Linked DNA regions of Homo sapiens: all the other regions are linked to region 2. Evidence: promoter capture Hi-C in 16 types of primary human blood cells and fetal thymus (Javierre and others, 2016). All regions are on one chromosome and are shown on one strand. Each heading gives the region's core, a stretch centred on a gene start or on the middle of the fragment in contact. The rest is flanking DNA. Distances are from core to core; before and after follow the strand shown.

Region 1 (2,700 bases), core at 187-2,686, 670 kb before region 2:
GAACTTTCAGTATTGTGGTACTTAATCTTCCATTGGGTGGTTGGAAATTCAGGTTCATAGCAAGCCACGTTAATCTGATGCTTGTCTCAGTTTAGTCAATTAACATTTGACTACCTGTTCCGTTGAGGATTCTGAGAAAGTTTTATAGTCCTTTACCATTACTATTTAAAAAGTACAGTCTTTCTCCTTACAGAACTCGACTTTTTTTTTACATTTTTTATTGAGTTTTTATGGTAGAGATAAAGAAGTATTCATTCAACAGACATGAGAACTAACTATATTCTGTAATTAGATAGTCCCTATTCTTAATCAACTTAGAAGTTTAGTGGGACAGACAGGAAAATCAACAAATTAGTTATGAACACAGTATAGTGGAAGCACAGGGAAGATGGAAATATCTGGATAGATTCCTAAAATTAATATGTCATTTTTGCCCATATGGGCCATCCTATTCTCTGTTTCAGTTTTATTAATATTTCATTTATTTTAGAGTATTTTGAGTCTTTTTCTTTTCTAGAATTTTTAAAGAGACTATAGGCATCATCTAGTCTGACATGATTATTTTCTAGGAGTTAGAACCAGAGCCTAGAGAGATTTAGTGACTTCAGACGAAGAAACTAATTGCTTCTTATAAAGTGTGATATCCAGACCAGCAGAATCAGTATCACCTGGGAACTTGTTAGAAATACATACTCTCAGGTTCCACTCCAGACCTACTGAATTTGATGTGTTTCAGCAGTCTGTGTGTTTAACCAGCCTTCCAGATGATTCTGAAGCATGTTCAAGTTTAGGAACCACTGTTACAGCTCATTGATTCTTTGTGCCTCCATCACTAATCAAGGTCACTGTTCTAGAGAGCAGCTGTTATTGATGCATGTGTTTTACCTCAGGGGCCTTTCAGTAAAAATCAGTAAAGAGTACTGATAGAGTTAATTGGTGATAAAGCTGGAATAAGAGCCTCCAGTCTAGCATTCCTTCCGTCATTCAGTGTTACTTTTTACCTTTTTAAATCCCTGACAGCAACTTAGTCTACAGTACTGATTCTGAACCCCTAGCTTTAAAAAGGCTACAACCCTAATTTAAACATCAAAGTAAAGTAAATAAATGAACATATTCTTAGAAAAGCTTTTTAGGTTTTTCTTCAGCTTTCTAAAGAACTGATTCTGAATCTTCTCTGGATTGTGGACTCCTGTGGAAAACTGATGAAAGCTATAAACCTTTTCTTCGGGAAAAAAAGAAATTATGTACACACTAGTCCCCCCTTATCCATGAGTGATACGTTCCAAGACAATCAGTGGATGGCTGAAACTGCAAATAGTGCCTTCATATGCTGTTTTTTTCCAATGAAGACATATGATAAGGTTTAATTCATAAATTAGGCACAGTAAGTGATTAACAACAATAATAGTAAAGTAGGACAATTATAACAATGTAATAAAAATTATGTAAATGTGGCATCTCTGTCTCTCAGAATATCTTATTGTATTGTCCTACAGATAACTGAAATCGTGGAAGGCAAAATGCAGAAAGGGGGGACTACTGTACACCTATGAACAGTATATTACATATAATCTCAGAGACTTCTGGTCTCTCTTGAAGCTAATGGACCCAGGTTAATAAGTGCCTTATTTTGATTTCTATGGGGGCTTTTATTTCCACTTAATTTTCAGATTCTTCCTTTCCATTTTCTGTGACAGTCATTTTTTGAGAGTTTAGAATGGACTATCCTGTATCCCCCACGTATACATAAGCTTACACATGCGTGTATACACATATGTAACTGGGTGGGTGAGTATTTTGGGAAGACTCCTAGATTATTTGGAGGGCATGGGCCAGAGCTTCCTCTAGTAGTTCACCACATACCTTTTTTCAGGTACACTGAGTATGTATTGAACAGAATACAGTAGAAATTTATGGACATTAAAGAGTCAGATTCTTTCAAATAAGCAAGTGAAGGGATTGAACATTCAGCAAAGAAGATTCTGATAACAAGACTTTGGAGACTTGGTGAAGTAGCAGACTTAATGAGATTACTGTGCTTTTACTCTTCTCTCCTCCACCTGCCTATTTTGCAGGGGAGTTGGGGGAGGCCGGCTTAAAAATGCAGAGACAAATATGGAAGCACTTTAGAGAGTAATATATGAATCTGAATATTCTAGGCATTAGTCCCTGTTCTGGTTATTAGTATCTTATGCTTTTGATTTTTACCGTATAAGATGTTTATGCACTCATTATTAAATTCAGACTACTATGTCAGATAACAAAATGTTTGATAGATGTTTAAAGTATGGTGCAATTATGGAACTAAAATATTTCCTCCCAAATATTTATTTTCTATGTGCCACTATCTGTCTTCCTAAATATGTGAGAAAAGTTTTGAAATTAACCAAAAAATGCTTTCTGTGTGTATAAGATTTCAGGAAACTTTATAGAGAAAAGTAACTATAGAAATTATTTTACTGTTTTGCATTAGTATTGCCAGTAAAATTAGATTACTTTTGATAAAAGCTTTAAGAGATAAATATACTGAAAATAATGTCCTCCAATGCAAGGAACATTGTAGTTCATGAGATCTTTAGTTATTGGTATTTTTGTGGGATACAGATTAATTAGTAATAATCAGAAGTCCTATTTTATGTAAGAGAATTTAGATAGTGTTTTATAATCGCTTTTTGAAAAAACTGCATAGATTATAATGTC
Region 2 (2,700 bases), core at 152-2,651:
TTTGGGAGGCCCAAGTGGGTGGATCACCTGAGGTCAGGAGTTCGAGACCAGCCTGGCCAAAATGGTGAAACCCCGTCTTTGTATTTTTGAAAAATACAAAAATTAGCCTGGCATGGTGGCGGTCGCCTGTAATCCCAGCTACTCGGGAGGTTGTGGCAGGGGAATCGCTTGAACCAGGAGGCTGAGGTTGCAGTGAGCCGAGGCTGCGCCACTGCACTCCAGCCTGGGCGAGAGAGTGAGACTCCGTCTCAAAAATTAAAAAAAAAAATCCAGTTGGAGAATCAAAAATTTTTAAAAATTTGACTGTGTAATCCTACAAGAAGTAAGTAGCTTGAGAAAGAGAAATGCTGATAAAGTCGCATTAAGTTTCAGAGTTGAAATTCAAGCTCCTGTATCTAACATGTTTCCCTGTTTAAGGTAGAATTTAAAAAAAAACTATATATGACATATATATGTCAACCCAAAAAAATAAAGCAGTATATATTATATATATAAGAATATATATATATTCTCCTTTATATGTTTTTTGTTTCACATATATATATAAATATATATCTCAACCACAAAAAAATTTGGTTTGTGACAAAGATGCACTTATTTGCACGAACCTATCTTGTTAATGATCAAGAAATCTGCTTTGTTACAATCATTAGAGGACAGAAATATACATACATATTTAAATCTATTTAATGAAATGCAGTTTTATGTTAAAAATCAATGATCTGCTAACCTAAAGAGTCGCACAGGAATACTATGATTATTAAACACAATGCGATTCTCTAAATAAGTAAACACGTGCAATGATATCAAAGTTCAAAATTCTCTAATTCTTCCACAAAGACTATGAAAATCACCTTGGAGTGTATGAACCAGCGTCCTGGCCCCGCCAGGTCGGGGCTGGGGCGGGCGCGGGCCGGGAGCGCTTACCCCGCGGCAGGAGCGATTCAGCGCCACTACCTGCTTCGCCTGGTTGTGGTGTGGCTGCTGCGCCAACCGAAAGGCCTCCTTAATCCGCAGCAGTCTCTTTTCGCTCCCATGGCTCTGGGACTCTGTCCGGACTAGCCCTGTCCGCGCTCGGCTACATCCGGCCCGCCCACCAGCTCAGAGGCAGAGTTCTCCGCGGTGTCTCCTAGGGTTTCTTGTCAGAGGGCCCCAGGCGCCTAGGGAGTCGTTACCGCCCTGGCATTCAAATAACTCCCGCGAGAGGCGGAAATCCCGCGAGACTGCCGACAGAGCGTAGGGAAGTGGAAAAGTGGAGCCTGCACCGCCCGCTCCCGGCACCCCCGGACACCGCCCCGGTCTCACGCATGCGCAGAGGGCCGATCCAGTTCTTTTCGGCTGGAATGGGGAATTTGTGAGGTAGGCCGGAAGTGGTGTTGCGGAGGGAAGTGTGGGGAGAGCAGAGGCGCAGCTCTGCTGGAGAGACCTGAGGCTTGCAGCGCTGGGCCCGGCCGGGTCGCTGCGGCTGGGCTGGAGGTGAGGCGAAAGAAGGGCATCCTCTGATGGGAGTGGACCGGAGTCCGCTAAAGCGAAGCATTCCAGGGTTCGTTGCGGGAAATACAGTCTGGTTTTGCCCCCCGTATGAATTGAGGGAAGGTGAGAGCAGAAGCAATCCGGGCCTGAAGGGCGATTATTCTAGGGTCGGCCGAGGGGTTCAGGCCAAAGTTCATTGAAATCCTAGCTGGGTCCCTGGAGGACGAGAAAACCGGTCAGGAGTCTCCTGGGAAGAGGGTCATGTTTTAATCTAGCTAAAGCTGGTACCTGGCAGTTTCCACTCTTAAGGCCTAGTGTACTAACTAATGTGTGCGCAATGTCAAAACAGGAAACAAAGGGAAATGCAAGAGGTGGAAGGTAATTTTAAGTTAGTGGCAGTATGACAGATTTCCAGTGCCTTCAGGAAGGTATCCAGCCTTAAAGATGCTTTTTTTAAATAGACGATTTTAGACAGAAAAAAGGTAGAAACAAAACTATAACACATGTGTACTCACCACTGAATTGGAGAAATAAATGATTATATAAGTGATTGAAGTCCTTTGTCAGCTCTACCCCGTCTCATTCTCTTTCCTTTTGCCTAAGGAAACCACTCTCCTAACCACCTTTATGCAATCTGTAATGTGTACATCTTTTTGCAGCTAGCTTGTTTTACATAATGTTTTTGAGATTTGTCAGTGTTGTGTAACTCCACCTTATTCATCTTAATAGCTGAACAGATATTCTGTTATTTTAATATGTCACTGTTCATTGTTTAGTATCTCCAGTGCCTGACATACTTTAGGCACTGTAGGTAGCTAAATGTTAGTTGAATGCATGGCTGCTGTAGCATTTGAACTAAGTAGAAAAGAATAAATAGGACTTCATGTGACCCAACAAGAGTATTCCAGGCAAAAGGAATACTAGCCAAAAGCAGAGACATGAAAGTGCATGAACTATTTCAAGAATTTCCATACTTTTAGTACTGAAATGTAGAATGTATGGAGATCATGTGATGAAGGAGAAACCTGGAAAGATGAGGCTTAAGCTTAAAGGATATTATCCTGAAGAGCTTACACAAGCTCGGCGCCATTAAATGCTTTTCCAGTTATGAGGAAGCTGATTAGAGCTGTATTTTCAGAAGATGATACAGCGCACTAGAGATATATCTTAGGATATAAAAGATTAGTGACGGGGAATTTTAGACTATCAAGCATTGTAACAATAACA
Region 3 (2,700 bases), core at 133-2,632, 650 kb before region 2:
AGTTCATCTGTACTCCTTACTTGTGTGCTAGCATATTATTTTGTTTTTAAAGGGACTGTGCTGAAAATTACTAAAATGTAATCCCAGACATTTAATTTTTAGACATTTTTCAAATCAGTTAAAAAAATTTTTTTTCATTTGTTGAGAGACAGGGTCTTGCCCTGTTGCTCAGGCCGGAGTGCATTGGCACAGTCATAGCTCACTACATGCTCAAACTCCTGGGCTCAAGTGATCTTCCTTTTTCTACCTCCCAGCTAGGTGGGACTACAAGCATGAGCCACCATGCCCAGCCTCTAAATGGGTTTTAATGTACTATTCTAATAGTCTATTAGAGATTTAGGAATTTGAGAAAAATCCTGTATTTTATAATATAGACTAAAAATAATGGTCATCCTTGCTATTGGCATTTATCAAATAAGTGTTATGATGTAAAAATGCTGGATAAACCACAGAATGTTTCATGCATACCTTTTTTCTTCTCCACAGCAGTTTGTAATACTGTTGTCCCTTCTGCATTTAGTAAATAAAAAACTTTCGAATGAAGAATGACTCAGAGGAAATACTATGCCACTATACTCATCAGCTTTAATTTTTTTTATATTTTTAATCATTTATAAACTTTGAAGAAGTTAAATTTTCAATAATATTTGTAATATAAGATGTTTTCATTAAACTAATTTATTTAAATATGACTTTATAAAGCCACATTGGCAAGTTGAGATGAATTTTTCTGCTTATTTTTTATTTTAACATTTTAATTGTTTTTGATTTAGGAATATGAAATTCTCTCAAGTTTTATTTTTGACAGATCTATAGATAAAATTACAAACAACTTTGAAAAAATTTAAAAATTCACATTTCATATTAAATTTGCAAGACTAGGATATGATAGATATATTGTTTTTACATTCCAAAAATAAATAAGCTTTATTCTATTGGCATTGCTCCCAAATCACATTGTATTCTTATGATCTAGGAACTAAGGTTAACTTTTTGTTTTGCTTTCAACTTCCAAAGATAATTTTAGTTAATATACTTTTAGTTGAACATAAGCTTTTTAGTTCTTAAGAAATATACTGTGCTCAATAATTTTCTCTTTATGCTGCCTTTGTTGTTGTTTTTTGTTTTTTTGTTTTTGCTTTTCAAATAACTCCATAATCTTCAAACTCACCTTTCCTGTCTTTTTAAAGGTCGATTGAGCTATCCACATCCAGGAACTGACAATCTGTTGATGTTAAATGGTAAGTTTTATAAAAACATTTTATGTTTCCAGTTGATTTATGTAAAGATGATTTAATACATGTTTCTCTGAACCTGTCCATACACACAATTTAATCATTCTATGAGCATAAAAATAAAGTTACAACTATTCCTATGCAAAAGGCAGAATTAGGAATCTGAGTGTGTTCGGGCTGGTAAAGCAGCCATTTGTAACAGTATGACTTTAATTCAGTGATCACGGACTTGGAGGCAGTCCTGGTTTGAATATTGCCTTTCCAGTTTCAGGTATGACCTTGGACAGATTACTATTACCTTAGTTTCCCCATCTCTGTAATGAGAATATAGTCTCAAGGTTTATTGTGAGATTTAAATGAAATGTTTGCAAAGGCATAGAACTTGTTACTTAGTATAGCATTGTGTTTGTGGTTAAATAAGGAATATACTGGTAACTCTATAAATATTGTGATCACACTAAACTTACTCAAACTAGAAAGCTTACATAGAGAAGTTCACCAAAGTAAGGAAAATAATAAATAAATTTCATTAAAGTTAGTTTTCTTTCTGTTAGACAAACATTAACATATTCAGAGTCTCAGTACTTAGCACTTCCGTGATTGTGGGAGTAGAGATGGAAGATTAAAATATCCTTCACAGGAGTATTTTTAAGTCAGAGGGTGGGTGTGGAGAGGGAAATAGGAAGGGGAAAGAATAGAAATAGTATTAATATTTACTTTAAAAAAATATCATTAGAATGGCTTGGCTCTTGTATTTCAACTGAAGGTTTGCTGAAATAAGATGGCAATGAAGTTGAGGAACAAAGACTGAAAATAAGGTACATGTGAAGCTAGACTATGTGAACTAATATTAAGACAGAAGGATGGAAATAAAGTCCAGGCCACGTAGGAGATGGTCAGGGTAAGTAGGATTCTCAATGAGAAAAATTGAAGAAGGCAGAGCATTAGATGAGGTGATTGATTTAATCATTCAGTATTTCACTGTTTAGTTGTCTAGCGCATGCCAGTCTAGTCTAAGCACTCGGTTATCTAATTAGTGAGAATCCTACAGGATGGTTGTGGTCAGAATTGCCTGGGGCCATACTGAGTCATGTGGAAGCAAAGAGCTTAGTAGCCACAGTGTATTTGCAACTTACATTATTAGTTATACTAAACATTATTAAACTAATGGATGATTTTGTCAGTTGGGAAAAGCCCTTATAAATAATCTAGATGTTAGGTTGAAAAGTGTTTCATCACATGGCAGAAAGAAGAGTATTTTATTTCAGGCAAGAGTTGCATCTTGTGGACAAGTCGGCTTTGTGTATTATGTGAGTAGTCTTAGTAGTCATTTGGGGCCACAATGCATACTCAGTACAGGAAGCCAGCCTGGAAATTCTGAACTTTTTCTGGCAAGGTACTAGCGGGGAGAAAAAGATAATGAAACTAGGACATGAAAATGTGTTTACATCAGGAAAAGAAACAA
Region 4 (2,700 bases), core at 193-2,692, 700 kb before region 2:
CACACAGTGTAACTTAAGTTTTTTTCACTAAGGATAAATGGCTTTTATATTATTTTCTTCTCAATAGAAATATTAACAACCAGTAGGTGTTAAAAGTTACTCACGTATTTGAAAGCTTATTTAGAATGTTTTACATATTGATATGCAGAAGTAAAAAAGATGAAATGAAAAGGTTAATATTAGAAATACATGGCATATATAACAATATATTACATAATATAAAATATATATTGTATATAATAGAAATAGATATATAATTTAGTTTCAAAGGTATTTTTAACAGACCGAATGGAAAATTGGTTAAATTATTGAGATTTTAAGAGTTTTAGCATGTATATACAAATAAATATATTCCAGAATGCTGATAAATTAATTTATGACACAGATTAATTTTAATGCATGGTAGTTACAACTAAGAAAATGTGGTTTTACCTCATACATTGTCTCTGCAATTTACTAGGTGTGTGAACTTGGGCAAATTATATATAACCCCTTGGTTCCTCAATTCCCACATCTGTAAAACACCAATAATTATACCCTATCTAATCATGTTGTCATGTGAAATGACAATAATGTGTATAAAATATATAGTACAGTGCCTGAAGTAAACCATAAATGATTGGTCTGTACAGTGGTTCTCAACCCCAGATGGATATTAGAATCACCTGGGGAGTTTCTTGAATACTGATGTCCAGGCTTCACCTAAAGCAATTACATCTGAATCTCTGGAGGTGGGGCTTAAGCCAATAACAATTTTTTTAAAAATTCATCACATGGGCCAGGTTCAGTGGCTCACACCTGTAATCCCAGCGTTTTGGGAGGCCAAGGCAGGAGGACTGCTGGAGCCCAAAAGTCGAGACCAGCCTGGGCAACATGATGAGGCCTTGACTGTACAAAAAATGTTAAAAATTAGCCAGGCATGGTGGAGTGCACCTAAAGTCCCAGCTACTTGGGAGACTGAAGTAGGAGGATTGCTTGAGCCCAGGAGATCGAGGCTGCAATGAGCCTTGTTCGGGCCACTGCACTCCAGCCTGGGCAACAGAATGAGAACTTGTCACAAAACAAAACGAAAACAAAAACAAAAACAAACAAACAAAAATCTCCCTCACTTTATGATTTCAATGTATATCCAGGGTTGAGAACTACTGATCTATAATAACTATCATGTATCACATATGGGCATGTAATGTTTGTATATGTGAATTATATTAACATAATATAGTGTCATGTCTATTAAACAAGTGGTGAAAAGAAATTAAAAATCTGTCCAGTGATTTAGTTTGAAAAAAATATATAAATTGGAAGAGTAGATAAATGATAATCAGGCCTAAGATCTCTGGAGTAGGTTGCCTGTGCACAATTACCACCTCCCACATTCACTAGCTTATAACTTTGGGCAAGTTACTCGACTACTGTTTCCTTATTTATCAGCTAGGGATAATGAAGATGCCTATCTCTCATTGCATTGTTAGTAAAATGCATATAACATTGTCTGGCATATCACAAGTATTACATATTTATGTTTTGGGAAATTTGATGGAACTGTTGCTGGGAATGTAAATCAGGTTCAACCATTGTGGAAAGCAGTATGGCAATTCCTCAAAGAGCTAAAAACAGAACTACCATTAGACCCAGAAATCCCATTACTGGGTATATACCCAAAAGAATGTAAGTCGTTCTATCATAAAGGCACATGCACGTGTATGTTCACTGCAGCACTATTCACAACAACAAAGACATGGAATCAACCTAACTGCCCATCAATGGTAGACTAAAGAACATGTGGTACATATACACCATGAAATACTATGCAGCCATAAAAAATGAGATCATGTCCTTTGCAGGAACATGGATGGAGCTAGAGGCCATTATCTTTAGCAAACTAACGCAGTCAGAGAAAACCAAATGCCACATATCCTCACTTACAGGTGGGAGCTAAATGATGAGAACACATGGACACATAGAGGGGAACAACAGACCCCTGTATCTACTGGAGAGTGGAGGGTGGGAGGAGGGAAAAGATCAGGAAAAATAACTAATAGGTACTAGGCTCCATACCTCTGAAATAATCTGTACAACAAATCCCCATGACACGAGTTAACCTATGTAACAAACATGCACGTGTACTCCTGAACTTAAAAGATAAAAAAAAGAAATTTGATGAAAATAGGTATTTGGAATGAATATTACCAGTAGTTAATATTCAATCTCAGTAACATACTTTTGCATTAGAACTGAAAAACAGATGCTATACCAAAGGTCTGGGGTAACTGTGAAGAAACATTCTCTAGACCTTATATGAAAGATCAAACGGATCCTCATTTCGTATTAGTTATTTGTCATCATAGAAAATAATAATGTTAATCTTGCCAGGACCTATATAAAACACCATAGAATATGTTAGTAAAAGTATCCAGCATCCCTGAAGCCCTGAATCTCAGATACTAGATGACAAACTGCTGGGAATGTTCAAATTATGTAACCATATACAGGTCCTGTGTTGGGTGCAGGTCCTGGAAGTGGATTTTCAGTGATGAATCCCTGTCTCGACTGGCTTGATTTCCGTTACTTCTCCAGCCTTGTTCAAATGGCCTCACCTCACCCCTTTGCTCCATCTAGGCAACACCCTCTTCCCTTTCTATAACATTTCCTACTATTTGTCTCCTCCAAGGCTTGGCTATTCTTGCCGATACCTCTTTC
Region 5 (2,700 bases), core at 176-2,675, 600 kb before region 2:
TGGACATCCACATCTCAGCAGCCCAAGGACTCCCAAATAAAATAAACCCAGAGAGATCCACACTGAGACACAATGTAATCAAATTTTTAAAAGTCAAGGAGAATTTTGAAAATAGCAAGAGAAAGCTTGTTATATCTAAGGAAATATACATAACAGTATTGGCAGATTTCTTAGCAGAAATCTTACAGCCTAGAAGGCAGTGAGATGATATATTAAAAGTGCTGAGAATGAAACTGTCATCCAAGAATACTATAACCAGCAAAACCTGTTCTTCAGAAATGAAGGCATGATAAAGACTTTCCCAGACAAACAAAATCTGAAGGAATTCTTCACCAATAGATGTGCCTTACAGAAAATGTTAAAGGGAATTCTTCAAGTTGAAGAGGAAGAATGCTTAACATCTATTAAAAAGCATATGAAACTATATAACTTCATGGTAAAGGTAAATATATATACAGATTGAAAATACCATGACATGTAATATGATAGGTAAATAAGTTTTAGTTTGTTTAGAGGTTAAAAAGGCAAAAACAGTAAAAATAACTATAACTATAAAATATGTTAATGAATAAACAATTTTAAAAGATATAAATTGTAATATCAAGAACAAAGTGTGGGGAGAAGAAAAGTAACAGTGTAGAGTTTCTGTATGGAGTTGATACTAGCCTGAAATAGACTATTATAACCATAAGATGTTTTCTGTAAGCCCCATGTAACCACAAAGAAAACACCTATAAAATATGCACAAAAGAAAGTAAAAAGTAAATTTAAAAAAGTAAGTAAAAAAGAATCAAAGCATATCAATACAAAAAAAAAATCAACAAAGGAAAACAGCAAGAAAGGAAAAGAACACAAGAACCAAAAGACAGAAAACTAGAAAATGGCAATAGTAAGTTCTTCCCTATGAACAATCACTTTAAAGGTAAATGAATTAAATTCTCCAATTATAAATGGCTGCATGGATAAAAATAAAATTAATAAAATATAGGAACTTATTATATGCTGTTTACAGGAGACTGACTTTAGATTTAAGAACATATACAAACTGAAAGTGAAGAGATGGAAAAACATTCCATGCAAATTGTAACCAAAAGAGAGTAGCATGCCTATGCTTATGCTAGACAAAATAGACTTTGAGACAAAGCTGTCACAAAAGGTCATTATATAATGATAAAATAATTATTAAGGAAAATGTAACAATTTTAAATATGTATTCATCCAACATTAGAAGTATCTAAATATATGAAGCAAACATTGACAGAACTAAGGGAAAAACAGCAATAGTAGGATACTTTAATACCTAACATTTAACAATGAATAGAAGTTCCATATGGAAAATCAATGAAGAAACAGAGGACATAAACAATACTGTAGACCAAATGAATCCAAGAGACATATATGGAATATTCCACCAAACAGCAGAAGAATACACATTTTTTTCAAGTGCTGAATTAATTACATGTTAGGTCACACAGCAAATCTTAACAAATTTAAGAAGACTGATCTCATACTAAGTATTTTTTTCTGACCACAATGAAATGAAACTAGAAATCAATAACTAAAGAAAACTGGAAAATTCACAAATATGTAAATTAAACAAGACACTCCTGAACAGCCAGTGAATCAAATAAAAAATCAGAAGGGAAATTTGAGAATATCTTGAGAAAACTGGAAATGGAAACACAACATACCAAGTCCTTTGGACTGTAACAAAATCAGGAAAAGGAAATTATGCAGCAATAAGCACCTACATTGAAATAAGAAAGAACTCAAATAAACAGCATAGCTTTGTACCTCAAGAAAGTAGAAAAAGAACAATCTAAGCCCAAAGTTAGAAAAAAGAAAGAAAGAAAGATTAAAGCAGAAATGAACACAATAGAAAACAGAAAACCAATTAAAAAAAATAAAACTAAGAGTAGGATTTTGAAAAAGATCAACAAAATTGACAAACCCATAGCTAGAATTGAAAAAAAAAAAAAGAGAGAGAGAGAAGACTTAAATTAAAAAAATCAGAAATGAAAGAGGAAACATTTTACCTGATGCCATGGAAATAGGATCAAAAGAGGCTACTATGAACACTTATACACGAACGAATTGTATAACCTAGAATAAACAGATAAATTACTAGAAACATACAACCTACTAAGATTGGATTATGAAGAAATTAAAAACCTGAACAGATCTATAATTAGTAAGGAAATTGAATAAGATGGCTTCACTGGTGAGTTACACCAAACACTTTTAAATAAATAGATGACTTAGGATTATGCAATTCTTTTTATAATTTTTGACCCTTTTTTTGTAACTTTTAAGTTCAGGGATACAAACCTTGTACAAACAAGGTTTGTTACATAACGTAAACTTGCGTCATTGTGGTTTGTTGTAGAGATGATTTCATCACCCACATATTAAGCCTAGTACCCCATTTGTTATTTTTCCTGATCCTTTTCCTCCTCCCATCCTCCACCCTCCAAAGGGCACCAGTGTATGTTGTTCCCCTCTAAGTGTCTATTTTCTCCTCATTTAGATCCCACTTATGAGCACATGTGGTGGTATCCCAAGAGAAATCTAACCGATTTTGTAGTGTGACTATTTCAGATTCTGTTCTGATTTTTATCACTTAAATTCCTAGGAATGAGAAGACATGATAATAAAAAATATTATTCAATTATTAAAAAATTAATGCCAATCCTTCTTAAA
Region 6 (2,700 bases), core at 82-2,581, 620 kb before region 2:
GACCAGTACTGGTGGTCCATGATCTTTTAGGAACCAGGCCACACAGCAGGAGATGAGTGGCAGGCAAGCCAGCATTACTGCCTGAGCTCTGCCTCCTGTCAGATCAGAGATGGCACTCTATTCTCATAGGAATGCGAACCCTATTGTGAACTGCACGTGCGAGTGATCTAGGTTGCATGTTCTTTATGAGAATCTAATGCCTGATGATCTGAGGTGGAACACTTTGATCTCGAAACCATCCTCCACCACCTCCATCCTTAGAAAAACTGTCTTCCTCAAAATTGGTCCCTGGTGCCAAAAAGGTCAGAGACTGCGGATTTATAGTATCTAGATCAACAAAAGTTATAAAAATAATTTGTTTCCAGATCCCACTATACAAATTTTTAAGCAATAAAAGAATCACTATTAACTGGCAAAAACAAACAAACAGAAAATTCTCATAAGACATCAAGGGAGTAAGACCCAATGTAATTTTCTTCATAGGTTCAAATACGTCCTTGGAATTTAAGTGATAGTGATTTTGTAATGGATGGTTCTCAGCCTTTGGATCCCCGAAAAACAATTTTTGTTGGAGGTGTTCCTAGGCCATTAAGGGCTGGTAAGTAGAATGTTAACAATTTTGTTTAAAAAAATCATTTAAATATGTCCTAGTCAATTTAATAAACGTTTGGAAGCTATTGTGTACATGACACTATTGGACAGAGCAGGAGCAGATTCTGCATGCACCAATTGCTGCTAACTACAGAATTTTGAAACAAATTCTGAGGCCCCCTCTTGAAACTCTCCAACTGGAGAATTGGGTACTTATCTATCAATATTAGTGCAGTAGCTAACTCAAAGCAAATCTATAAGAATCCACCTAAATACTTCCGATTTCCTAAGTGTACCTCTCTGAGATAAGAGAATTTGGGGTCTGTTTATTTTGTGTAGATCGATTCTGATATCTGAAAAAGAAATATGGGATTTTTTTCTCTTTTATCTATATTTTAATCATTAAAGTAGCACTTTAGATAAGTGAATGATGATAAACTTCTGTTTATCAATAACTAGGAACCAAAAACCTACCAAAATATGTCACAGAGGAATATAATTGTAGATGTATATGCCCACTTTGCACTTGTTAGATGGTACTGTGCACCATGTGTAGAGTGTTAGTGATTTCCATCACTGAGAACATCGTCTCCCCAGTCATAGAGATATATGTTAAAGAACTATTCATACATGGAAATACTTATAGAATATGATGACTTCTACAAAGAAGTACTATAGGGAACAGAAGAGCATGTAGCAAGGAAATATGATATCTGATATCTTGAAGGTATTTGAAGTCTGATATCTTGAAGGTATTTGTAGTTGAGCTGACATATAAAGACTGGGCAAAAGGAGTAGGATCAGGGTGGTAGCAGGGTTCTGAGGAATGTGTTTCACAGAAAGGGAACAGCTTATTTAAAGGTCTTGAGTGGAGGGAAACAGGGTGCTTTGAAGGAACTGAAAGAAGCCCAAAGTGCCTGACTTGGGATACAAGGAGTGAGGGAAGGGGTCAAATCATACAAGTCTAATAGACTAACTCGGTATTTATTCTCAGAGCAAGGGTAAACCATTGAAGAGTTTTTAAGCAAAAGAGAGACTTCATTATCTTTGCAGTTTTCAAAGTTCACTTTAGCTAATGATTCAGAGAGAGGGGGGCCAGGGTGAGAGTAAATGCGGGCAGACCAGTTTAACATCCTATTATTACAATCCAGGAGATAGACAATGGTGGCTTGGATTAGTGGTAGCAGTGGAGAAAGCCAACTGAACAGAGGTGACAGATGTTTATGAGGTAGACACAAAGACTGAATCTCATCTTTCAGTCATAAGCCACTGGGTGGATAGTGATGCCTTTTACTGAGATGGAAGGAAAACTGGAGAAGGAGCAGATAGGGAGGGAAGATTGTGGTCTTGGTTTTGAACACAAGTTTATGGCACCATTCAGAGCTCCCAAATAGAAATTTCAATTAAACCATGGTATATGGTATATTTTTTTATGTATTTTTATGGTGGTATCTGGTGTATTTTTTAAGAGAATCACTCTTTATACTGTTTTAAAAAGCTGGGAAGGCAAGGGCCAAAAGCAAAGAGAGATAAGGTTATTGCCATGAACCAGATGAAAAATGATGTTAGCATGAATCAGGATGTTAGTGATGGAGGTGAGGCAATTGGACTCTAGATATGTTTTAAAATCAAGTTTACAGGATTGCATGTGCAGTATGGAGCAAGGGAAGAATACAGAAAGAATGAAGCCAAAGATCTTGACAACTTCATCTTTTCTGTTGCTTTCTAACTGGGTCAGCAGAAACTCATTGGAGCAGGTTTAATGGGATAAGGGAAGATTATGAGTTCCATTTTTAATATACCGAGTGTGGCCAGTGCCTGTTAAATATCGAGTTGTCCAGTAGACAGTTGCATGTACAAGTCTGGCATCCATGGGAGAGGTCCACACTAGAGATAAAAATGTAGGAGCTTAAAAACATATAGATGGTGTTTAAAGCTATGATACAGGATGAAGGTACCAAAGCCAGGAGTGTAGATAGTGTTGCAAGGATTGAAAGTTAGGGTACTCTGACATTGAAAAGTTAAGGCGTTTAGGATGAACTATCAAGGAAGACTCAGAAGAAATGTATCAGTGAGGTAGGAGCAGAATTAGTGGGATAATATATTCTA
Region 7 (2,700 bases), core at 176-2,675, 680 kb before region 2:
AACTAACTCCTCTTTATAATTCTATTTTCATTTTAAAATTTAAAATCACTAAGTTGTCACCAGGACAGCCTCAAGTATTATTTTAGAAATAAATTTCATAAGGCTATAGCTGCCATAGTGATTTCTCTGATGGATAAGGGCAAAGCAAATTGAAAACCTTCTGGAAGGGATTCACCATTCTAGCTGCCATTCAGAATATGTGTGACTCATGGGAGGTCAAAGTGTCAACATTAACTGGAGTTTGGAAGAAGCTGATTCCAACCCTCTTGGATGACTTCGAGGGGTTCAAGACTTCAGTGAAGGAAGTTACTGCAGATGTAGTAAAAATAGCAAGAGAACTAGAATTAGAAGTGGAGCCTGAGGATGTGACTGAATTGCTGCAATATTACAATAAAACTTGAATGGAGAAGGAGTTGCTGCTCATGGATAAGCAAAGAAAGTGGTTTCTTGAGACGGAATCTACTCCTCATGAAGATGCTATGAACACTGCTGAAATGACAAAAAAGATTTAGAATATTACATAAATTTAGATGATAAAGCATTAGCAGGTTTTGAGAGGACTGACTAATTTTGAAAGAAGTTCTGTGGACAAAATGCTATCAAACAGCATTGCATGGTACAGAGAAATCTTTCATGAAAGGGAGATTCAATTTATGTGACAAACTCTATCTTTGTCTTAAGAAATTGCCACAACCACCTCCGCCTTCAGCCACCACCATGCTGATCAGTCAGCAGCCATGAATGTCGAGACAAGACTCTCCACTGACAAAAAGATTATGACTTACTGAAGGCTCAGATGATCATTAGCACTTTTTAGCAGTATTTTTAAATTAATGTGTGTATATTTTTCAGAATAATGCTACTGTGCACTTATTTAAATGTAATTACAAGTTATGTTTAGACTATAATTGAGAACTTATGTTTAGAGTATAATATACTGTAAACATAACTTTTACATGCACTGGGAAACCAAAAAATTGGTGTGACTTGCTTTATTGGGATATTTGCTTTATTGTGGTAATCTGGAACAAAACCCACGGTATCTCTAGGTTATGCCAGTAATTTAAAGGTAGGACAAGCAACATGTTCTGATGGCTTGGATATGATGCAAGAAGGACAGAAGTGGATTGAAGTGAAGAATGACTCCAGGGTTTTTGGCCTGAGCAACCAGAACAATGGAGCGCCACAGGGATTGGGCCTAGTGAGGCAGGGAGTTTAATTTTTGACGTGTTTAATTTGAGGTATCTATGAGACACTCAGTCAAATGGGCAAGTCGTTCAGGCAATGTAAAAGCAGAAAAAGAAGGCAGTAGCTAAAGGAGGGAGAATATAAGGTCAAAAGGTTTTGGCTTTACTTTTCAAAGGTGAGAACTAGTAAAGCAAGTTTTTGTGCACATGGAAGTGTTTCCTGGAGAGGAAAGAGGTCATGATGAAGGACAGAGAGAGAAAACTGTTGGAGCCCATGTCTTGAGTAGGTTAGAGGTAGGATCTGCTCCGCCAGTGGAGAGGCTGGCCTTAGACAGGAGTATGGGCAGATGGGCCATCCATTGTATCGAGAGGGAAGGCAAGGTGTGCAGGGACAGATGCAGGGAGACTGTGGAAGTTTTCCTGTGGTTGCTTCTTTTTTCTCAGTGAAATAAGCATGTAGCTCAGCAGCTGAGAGTGCTACATGCTAGCAGATGCATGTAGGAGAGATGTGACAAGAGGTTTTCAGATTGAGCAGAATGTTTGAAATGGTCTAGGACAGTGGTTTTTCAGTTCATAATCTGATAGAGGGTGTTAAAACCAACTTTGTAATTTGAGATCAAACGTGATTTTAAAATGAAAATAGAATTATAAAAAGGAGTTTGTTGCATTATTAAAAGAATTGCTTAATAGCAGCTTTATTTCAGTTGCATGAGTGTGTACTTGCACATATATTGGGTTGTAGCAAAAATACTTTTAAAAATACTTGCCCAGGACAGTGGGAGTAAATGAATAAGGGACTGTCAAATACAAAGTCAAGGTCCTAGTTAATGATCATGAGTCAAAATATTTTCATGTAAAAAACCAAAAAAATCATTGAATGGACTCATAAGATCTTGGCATGGAAACTGCTAGAGGACCATAGTCCCTCCTCAGTATTTGCTGCTCCTTCTCCCTACCCCACTCCACTCTCCACCCTAGGAAACCTTTTCATTTGAATATTTTCAATAAGGGCAAGATCACCAGCTTACAAGATGTCAGAAAGTAACTTTCTGCTCTAAAAAAATGGGGCCCTCACAAAAGTAGTGAGTAGAGGCCCTGGCAGGATTTGGAATTTGGTGTATTTAATATGAAGTTTGACATTATTATGTAATAACAAACTTGATGGCTTTTCCCCGTTTCAGAGAGCTCTAAATCCTCTAAGACAAAACTAGTACCAGAGCACTAAGAAATCTTGTTTTTGTTCAAAACTCTAGCCCAGAAAGGCACCAGTTAGCTTTTAAAAGTATGTGCTCTCTCCTCTTTACTAACTGCGGTGTTAGTGGATAATTGAGCTAAGGTTTATACCTGTATTTTCCCCCTATTTCAAGATTTGTTGTTGGATCTGCAAATGATTCCAATCAAATACAACTGTACTTGGAAAAAAATCATCCGTTGTTAAGACTTTACATTCCTTAGTTGCAGAAGTAGTTTTTTTTCCTGCACAATACCTTTTAAAAAATGAATATTTAATATG

Evidence for each region. The method cuts DNA at HindIII sites, captures the fragments that hold promoters and counts their contacts. A CHiCAGO score of 5 or more calls a contact.
Region 1: a fragment that was not itself captured here is called in contact with the fragment with the promoter of FAM200B in region 2 in 9 of 17 cell types (naive CD8 T cells, total CD8 T cells, naive CD4 T cells and 6 more); the score reaches 9.2 in naive CD8 T cells.
Region 3: a fragment that was not itself captured here is called in contact with the fragment with the promoter of FAM200B in region 2 in 2 of 17 cell types (non-activated CD4 T cells and naive CD8 T cells); the score reaches 6.3 in non-activated CD4 T cells.
Region 4: a contact is called between a fragment that was not itself captured here and the fragment with the promoter of FAM200B in region 2, in 1 of 17 cell types (non-activated CD4 T cells). The highest score is 5.5, in non-activated CD4 T cells.
Region 5: a contact is called between a fragment that was not itself captured here and the fragment with the promoter of FAM200B in region 2, in 2 of 17 cell types (neutrophils and monocytes). The highest score is 6.1, in neutrophils.
Region 6: a fragment that was not itself captured here is called in contact with the fragment with the promoter of FAM200B in region 2 in 1 of 17 cell types (neutrophils); the score reaches 5.4 in neutrophils.
Region 7: a contact is called between a fragment that was not itself captured here and the fragment with the promoter of FAM200B in region 2, in 11 of 17 cell types (non-activated CD4 T cells, naive CD4 T cells, naive CD8 T cells and 8 more). The highest score is 16.5, in non-activated CD4 T cells.

What each region holds. Positions count from the first base shown.
Region 1 is chr4:15,014,467-15,017,166 of GRCh38, forward strand. The region is part of intron 3 of CPEB2 (cytoplasmic polyadenylation element binding protein 2); the gene reads left to right. All of the region lies in intron 3 of C1QTNF7-AS1 (C1QTNF7 antisense RNA 1), which reads right to left. Among named protein-coding and RNA genes, the nearest start is that of CPEB2, 13 kb to the left of the region's middle. The HindIII fragment of the contact is 626 bases long and covers 1,124-1,749 here.
Region 2 is chr4:15,680,426-15,683,125 of GRCh38, forward strand. It overlaps FAM200B (family with sequence similarity 200 member B), which reads left to right and starts at 1,402. Exons shown (of 2, transcript NM_001145191.2): 1 at 1,402-1,476. It also overlaps a transcript of FBXL5 not described here. RefSeq lists enhancers at 902-1,201, 1,372-1,611, 1,622-1,671. The HindIII fragment of the contact is 4,207 bases long and covers 1-2,516 here.
Region 3 is chr4:15,031,971-15,034,670 of GRCh38, forward strand. CPEB2 (cytoplasmic polyadenylation element binding protein 2) reads left to right here. Exons shown (of 12, transcript NM_001177382.2): 5 at 1,191-1,241. All of the region lies in intron 2 of C1QTNF7-AS1 (C1QTNF7 antisense RNA 1), which reads right to left. Among named protein-coding and RNA genes, the nearest start is that of CPEB2, 31 kb to the left of the region's middle. The HindIII fragment of the contact is 662 bases long and covers 1,052-1,713 here.
Region 4 is chr4:14,980,262-14,982,961 of GRCh38, forward strand. All of the region lies in intron 7 of CPEB2-DT (CPEB2 divergent transcript), which reads right to left. Among named protein-coding and RNA genes, the nearest start is that of CPEB2-DT, 20 kb to the right of the region's middle. The HindIII fragment of the contact is 2,659 bases long and covers 114-2,700 here.
Region 5 is chr4:15,075,819-15,078,518 of GRCh38, forward strand. All of the region lies in intron 2 of C1QTNF7-AS1 (C1QTNF7 antisense RNA 1), which reads right to left. Among named protein-coding and RNA genes, the nearest start is that of CPEB2, 75 kb to the left of the region's middle. The HindIII fragment of the contact is 2,605 bases long and covers 124-2,700 here.
Region 6 is chr4:15,058,704-15,061,403 of GRCh38, forward strand. CPEB2 (cytoplasmic polyadenylation element binding protein 2) reads left to right here. Exons shown (of 12, transcript NM_001177382.2): 10 at 484-598. The region is part of intron 2 of C1QTNF7-AS1 (C1QTNF7 antisense RNA 1); the gene reads right to left. Among named protein-coding and RNA genes, the nearest start is that of CPEB2, 58 kb to the left of the region's middle. The HindIII fragment of the contact is 7,637 bases long and covers 1-2,700 here.
Region 7 is chr4:14,997,858-15,000,557 of GRCh38, forward strand. All of the region lies in intron 3 of CPEB2-DT (CPEB2 divergent transcript), which reads right to left. Among named protein-coding and RNA genes, the nearest start is that of CPEB2-DT, 2.8 kb to the right of the region's middle. The HindIII fragment of the contact is 4,228 bases long and covers 1-2,700 here.